Linked DNA regions of Homo sapiens: region 2 is linked to region 1. Evidence: promoter capture Hi-C in 16 types of primary human blood cells and fetal thymus (Javierre and others, 2016). All regions are on one chromosome and are shown on one strand. The core of a region is centred on a gene start or on the middle of the fragment in contact, and the rest is flanking DNA. Distances in the headings are between cores, read along the strand shown.

Region 1 (3,670 bases), core at 755-3,254:
GAGCTCACGTCCTTGGGGAGACAGGTAACACCTTAATTACACCATTTTGGGAAGGGAGAGGCACCACCATCATCACACCTTGCAGCATCTCTGGAGAAGAATTCGACTTCAAAGTTGTAGCAGAAAAAGGAATCAGCAGCTTCAAGTGGTTTTTGGAATTGGGGAGGGCAGTGAATTAGGCACACATGAAATATAAGGGGAAAAAGTCAGAAGGCAATGCTCTTAACCTCCTCCTTCTCTAACACTGGTGCAAAGGGGAGTGAGGCCTGAGCTTTAGGCTTGGCTCTGCCCCTAAACTGGCTGGTGGCTTCGGGTAAGTCAGTGAACCTCTCTGGGCCTCAGTTTCTCCATCTGACAAATGGGCCAAGAGACTCAAATCTGCTGACTTCACAGGTTTGTTGGGTGAGCAAATGAGATAGAGTGATAGAATGAGTAACTGCCATGTCAAGGGTGGAAGGGATTGTTATAATTATTGCTAAAGAGTGTGGTAGCGGTGAGTTGGGTCTGCTGCACCCAGCAGTCGCTTTTTGTCTGTACATTTCCTTTTATTGAGGTATAATTTACACAGAGTGAAGTGCATAGGTCCCAAGTCTTAGGATTCTGCCTCCTGGAGCAATGACAATCCTTTAACTCCATTTCCACTTCTGTCCCCCTCTTGCCCCTCACATGGGGCAGGCAGATCAAGAACGACCATTCCCACTGCACCATGGCAAGCTGAGGCTCAGAGAGGTTAAGTCACCAGCTCCAGGTCACACAGCCAGTTAGGAGCAGAAGTGGCTTTGAACCTGGATCTCTCAGGTAGCCAAGCCCATGCTCTTTCTGCTCTATCTCATGAACTACTTGACCCAAATGCAAAGAAGGGGATCGTTCCTGCTGATGTTACTTTGTTTAGAAGGCTTTATCTTTGCCTTCTCTGTGCTGGGCCTGATGCAGAGTTGAATCCACTGGCTGACAGGTGAGGTGGGCCAAGCAGGGACCCACAGGGGGAAGAGATGGGCAGGGAGAAGCCACCTACATCAAGCTACACTGAGACAGCAGCATGGCTGAGAGCCGGGCCTGGGGCTCTATCCTGGCAATAACACTTCTTAGCTGTGTAACTTCAGACAAGTTATTTTACCTCTCTGTTCTTTAACAGTAGCTGCTTTAAAAAGTTGTCAAGAGGATTAACTGAGAAACCTCATCTAACTCCTTTGCTCCTTGAATCAACCCTAGGAGGCGCTATTACCATCCCTAGTTTCCAGATGAGCAATCTGAGACATGAGAGGTGAAGTCACTTGCCCATGGTCACACAGGTGGTTTGCTGGTATAGCAAACCCAGGTAACCTGGCTCCCAAGTCTGTGCTCTTAACCATGGTCTCCACTGCCCTGCCCATACTAACAGTGAAGGTACATGTTAGCCCTAATTATGACCTTGAAAGATTCTACAAGGCAGAGAGTTAGTGAGAGGAAAGGATTCTGGGCAGATGGCCCTGCATGTGTGATGGCCTGGAGGCCTTCGAGGAGAATCCAGGGGTAGCTGGAGAGCAGGGCGTGTGCGGAGAGCAGGGCACAGTGAGGCTGGGGAAGGGGAAGTGAATTTAATGAGAAACTTGGGGTTGTGAGTGGGGGAAGGATTTGGGTGTGGGATGAAGGTGCAGGACAGGGCTGGGCCGGGCCATTGGACTCAGGTATGCCTAGGCTTGGGGTGGAGCTTCAAGGCAGCGCGGGCTCCAGCCCCTGGAAGAGCCACCCCCCACCCACCTGAGATTTCCCAAATTCCAGCTGCCGCTCTAGTTGCTTCTGCAAGCAAAGGAGCCCTTGTGGTCAGAGGGGCCTCTGAAGCCTGGGCCAGGCTCTCCCGCCCTCTCAGGGCACACACACCTCCATTCAGCCCAAGCCCCGCCCTTTGGGGGGGCTGGGGGCCAGGGCGGGCTGCCCCCACGTCAGTCGTCAGTTGGGGGCCACCTGACCCAAAGGCTGGGCGGGCAGTGGGGTTGATAAGACCTGGACCCCACTGGTCCCACAACCGTGCCGGCTGCTGCCCGTGCTGCCAGAACTATGAGGGTCCTCTCTGGCACTAGCCTCATGCTCTGCAGCCTGCTGCTGCTGCTCCAGGCCCTGTGCAGCCCTGGCCTCGCCCCCCAGTCCAGAGGTGAGGGGGCTTGCGTGAGATGGGGGCTACTGAGCTAGTGGGCCCTGACCCTCAGCACTGGGGGCTGGGTACCGATATGGCAGGGAGCACACGGGATCCAGGATGGGGAAGGGAGCAGGGCGGCAGTGGTGGGCAGTGGGCTGGTGCAGGAGCAGACAGGGACCATGGTGCTTATAAGGGTCAGGGCAGGGGTGCTCCTCAGCCCTCAGGGACCATGCATGAGGCAGGGACCTTGGTCTTCCAGGTCTCTGGGGAGCAGAAGCTACTCAGAGAGCTGGCTGACGTCTGGAGCTGCACCAAGCCCAGGGCTGAGCCCATGGCTCTTTGATGACAGCAGACCTGGGATGCCAAGAGCTCATGCCCCCTTTGCAGGTCCTTCCAGCCTTGGGCTCCCTGGGGGCAATAACACCCCCCAGAGTTTCAGGTTTGGGCACTGAGTCCTGGAATGCCCATTCTTCCTGTACAGATGGGGAAACTGAGGTCAGTGAGGGCCTAAGACCACACAGTGAGATAGCGCCAGAGCCTCTAGGTTATTGATCTACTGCTGTACGGTGTGGCCAATTCCCTTTCCCTCTTTGGGTCTCAGTTTACCCATTTGTAGCCTTAGCGAGTAGACAGCAGGGAGCCTGCTGCATGGTGATTTCTAAGGTCTCCTGAGGAACTCTGATGTCCAGAGCCCCAGTCTAGGGCACTGTGAGTTACTGTGACTTGGGGGTTGGGACGGCCCTGCACGTTTCCCCTTTCCTCTTTGGGATTGGCTCTGCTCAGTTCAGACTCCGCATGGGATGGGGAGGGAAGGGCCTTTGTAGTGAGACCTTCCTGACTGCAGGCCCAGGCCAGTGACAGTAGCCTTATTCTCTCCACTGGACATGTGAGATCACGGAGGCTCAGAAAGGTGCAATGATCTGCCCAGGGCCCCACAGAGTGGCTGAGCCAGGATTTGAACCCAGGCCTGAACTCACTCTGACCCTGCATACTTCCCAGCACAGGGTGCTGCCTTCTTGGGTCTCTGGAGGACATTGCTCCTCGGGGGTGTGTCTTGGTGTGCACCTGATCAGGCTGCCGAGGTGGCCACCAGGAATTCCTGCTCCTTTTCCCTGTCTTTGGCAACCCGCCAGCAGGCGCTGCCAGGCTGAGGGAAACTGGTTCCACTTTGGTGATTTGCTTTGATGCTCAGATGAAAGAGGCCATGTTGACGGGCACTGCTTTGGCTCTCAAGCCTGTGCCCATGCCTGGAGGGCCCATCCTTGGTGCCCTCCTGCCCAGCTAGAAGAAATAGCTGCCCTTGTTTCTGGCAGCAAGTCTGGGCTGAAACCTAAATGTGTTTTCAAGGCCGCAGGGTCCTTTGCCACCCCTGGAATACTCATTGCTTGCCTGGCCCCCTGCTGGCTCCTCAAAACATCCTGTAAGGAGGGATTGCTAGCTCACTGCTCAGATGAGGAAACTGAGGCTCAGAGAAGTGAAGCAAATGGCCCAAGGCCAGGCTTGGCCCTCTGTGTTCCCCATGGGCTGAGCAGGGGGCCTTTGGCAAGTTGCTTG
Region 2 (3,354 bases), core at 471-2,970, 290 kb before region 1:
TCTGCCTACCAATATGCTGGGATTATAGGTGTGGGCCACTGCACCAGGCCCACAGCTAATTTATTGTTGAATACTTAGTTTGCAGTTTGCTTTCAACTTTTTTTTTTTTTTCTGAGACACAGTCTTGCTCTGTCGCCCAGGCTGGAGTGCAGTGGTGCGATCTTGGCTCACTGTAACCTCCGCCTCCTGGGTTCAAGTGATTCTGCTACCTCAGCCTCCCGAGTAGCTGGGATTATAGGCGCCTGGCCACTACGCCTGGCTGATTTTTGTATTTTTAGTAGAGACAGGTTTTCACCATGTTGTCCAGGCTGGTCTTGAACTCCTGACCGCAAGCAATCCGCCCGCCTCAGCCTCCCAAAGTGCTGAGATTACAGGCCTACTTTCAACTTTTTTAATTCTTTTTTTTTTAATTTTAATGTTTAAAAATAGAGATTGGGTCTTGGCATGTTGCTCAGGCTGGTCTTGAACTCCTCAAGTGACCCTCCCACCTCAGCCTCCTAAAGTGCTGGGGTTACAAGCATGAGCCACTGCATCCAGCCTCGACTTTTTTTTATTTTTACAAGCACTTTGAATGTAGATTTTTTTTTTTTTTTTTTTTTTGGAGACTGGATCTTGCTCTGTTGCCCAGGCTAGAGTGCAGTGGCACAATCATGGCTCACTGCAGCCTTGACCTCCTGGGCTCAGGTGATCCTCCCACCTAGGTCAGCCTCCTGAATAGCTAGGACCACAGGCATGTGCTACCACACTTGGCTTTTTTAAGTTTTTGTAGAGATGGGCTGTCACATGTTTTCCAGGCTGGTCTTTAACTCCTAGACTCAAGCTATCCTCCTGCCTCACCTCCCAAAGTGCTGGGATTGCAGGAATCAGCCATCATACCTGGCTGTGACTTTTGATACGTATGTAGTTTCTGAGGCCCTTCCAAAAGAATTACGCTAACCAGGAATGAATGAACTTGGCTTTTCTTAAAGATATGTTTTAATAAGTTAAAGCTTTAAATAAAGCTTTAGTATAACTTAATATCAGTATAGTTCTTAGTATTTATAAAAGCACTTCATATACTATCTCACTTGATTTCACAACAACAGTCTGTGGTATGGAGAGACTACATAAGTTGTGAAAAATACAAAATTTTTACAAGTAAGACTACCACCTGTGATTATCAGTGGTTACCAATCAAACTTCCTCATTTCAGTTAGTTCTGAAAGGTCCTTTCTCTGAGTTGATGTCATCTTCTCTTAATGTACTGAGAGTGTGGTGAGATATATACTAAGAGATTAATAATTGTTTTGGTTGTTGGTCTGTCTTACCAGCTAGTTAAATATCAAGCATTTGTTTCCTGCATTGGCTGCATTCCAGTGAAACTAAGCTTGTGTTGTAAGTTAGAGATGCTAGATAATAACATGATCAAACTGATCACGTCTGCAGGGTTGTAACATCCATGTTAGTAGTATTTCTTAAGATGCTCAATTTCTGCTCTGAGAGATGCTCTGTGCAGCCTGTATTGAGTGTGTAAGCAGTTACCTAATATTTTATTCCTTTTGAGTACAGAGTAGTTGCTGGAGAGCCCTTTTACTGTTGAGATCATCAGTAAACCTCATTGATAAATCCCTATTCAAATATTAGTGGCGGTATGGTCAAACAAGTCCAGGCAATAATTGTCTTGCCTCTGCAGTTCCTGAAAAGCCGTAATCATGGTTCTTGTAGTGTTGTTTTGTTGGGGTAGTTAATGTAATGAGGTTTGTACTGACATGGCCTAGGTGATGCCATGATCACTGTGTCTGATAGTTTGACATAGGAGCATTTCATTGACAAATCATTAGTATTGTGATGTCTATTGGCTGCTACTTTGCTCTTTTAAAGAAGGATAGTAGCTGATTTTTTGTTTACTGTTTCAGCATTGTATTATGTCATTACATGTGTTATCTCTTTCATTGTACACAATAGGTCATTTTATAGGTGAGAAAAAGCAGAAGAGGATAAAATTCACACAGCTGGGATTTAAAACTAGTTTAAAATAAAGTGATTTCAGAGCATTCATGGGTCTTTATCACTGTTCTTAAAATAAGAAGCTTAGAGTTTCTTGATATTCTCCACTTTTTATTGTCTTAATCCATGTTTTAAGGGTTCTTGGTGTAGGGGTTTATGACATGATTGATTGTTAAGTGTTAAGTGTGGTTTTGCGTATTGTTCTTTTTTGTTAGATGGAAAGGAAAAAAGGTGTTTCCAGACAAATTTAAAAGAAGTGTCTCAAGTGGCTGACATTGCTTGTAAACCAGTGCTTGACTTCTATTTTGTTTTCCAGAAGCCTCATAGATAAGCTTACTGAATTTTTTTTTTTTTTTTTTTTTTACTTTTCATAAGTTTTTTTATTTTATAAACTTACGATTCAGGGTGGGATAAACAGTGTACGTGTGTGTGTTTCTCCCAGAGATTTGAGAGCACACACTATTGGTGGGGCAGTTAGGAATTCCACTTAATGTTTCATTACAAGAAAGAGTACAAGGTCTATTTATTTTATTGCTGGGGATGATAGGACTCCCCAAGTCATGGTTCTCAGTTTGTAGATCTTGAAATGGACTGTTATTACTAATTCAGATGACTGGGTTGCGATATTGACCCCACACTAACCAGAACAACAAGAGGCTAATGTATGAAAACCAAAATGCAGTCTGCTGATTTTTTTTTTTTAAGGAAAAAAAACAACTCTTAGATGGACAAGGATGGTTGTGTTTGGTGATTGGCATGGTTGGCTATAGGAGGAAGCCAGTTCTTTAAGAAGGTGGCTTGGTAAGCAGAGTTGGAGCCAGGGAGATTACTTGGGTGTTTTTAGTGTCCAGTGTAATTAAGCTACTATCTAACCAGATGCATTAATTGCTTTGATAAGAATAGGCTTCTTTGTGCATCATATGCCCTGCCCTTAAATGTGTCACCTGGATAATACTGGCTACATCTGATTCCTTGGGTCTCTTTTGCTTTTGTTGGACCAATTCCTAATTCCTGTTATCTTCTTTTGGAATTGTCACATCATTTAATCCTCTTACTGCTAAGTTATTCTTTAAAACAAACTCTACATCTCTCTTGTGATCTGTTACTTTTCGCCTTGTCAAAAAAACTAGTCTTTATTTCCAGATTCTTGATGGGGTGGATAGGAACTATCTTTTCATAGGTTGGATGCATTTACATTTTTGGTTATTGTGTGTTAAGTGAAGATTTGGCAACTGCTGGTATTTATGCCAGTGGGTTGGCAAACTAGGATATTTTACCCAACGCTGTGGATGATGTTACCTCCAGAGAGCTTACTGTTGAATTTGAAATTGTACTTGGATAACACATTATCATTTGGTTTTATAATTC

Evidence for each region. The method cuts DNA at HindIII sites, captures the fragments that hold promoters and counts their contacts. A CHiCAGO score of 5 or more calls a contact.
Region 2: a fragment that was not itself captured here is called in contact with the fragment with the promoter of MATN1 in region 1 in 1 of 17 cell types (naive B cells); the score reaches 5.4 in naive B cells.

The regions. Positions count from the first base shown.
Region 1 is chr1:30,721,919-30,725,588 of GRCh38, reverse strand. MATN1 (matrilin 1) reads left to right here and starts at 2,004. Exons shown (of 8, transcript NM_002379.3): 1 at 2,004-2,131. The coding sequence starts at 2,038. All of the region lies in intron 2 of MATN1-AS1 (MATN1 antisense RNA 1), which reads right to left. The HindIII fragment of the contact is 11,974 bases long and covers 1-3,670 here.
Region 2 is chr1:31,011,548-31,014,901 of GRCh38, reverse strand. The region is part of intron 3 of PUM1 (pumilio RNA binding family member 1); the gene reads left to right. Among named protein-coding and RNA genes, the nearest start is that of SNORD103C, 45 kb to the right of the region's middle. The HindIII fragment of the contact is 703 bases long and covers 1,369-2,071 here.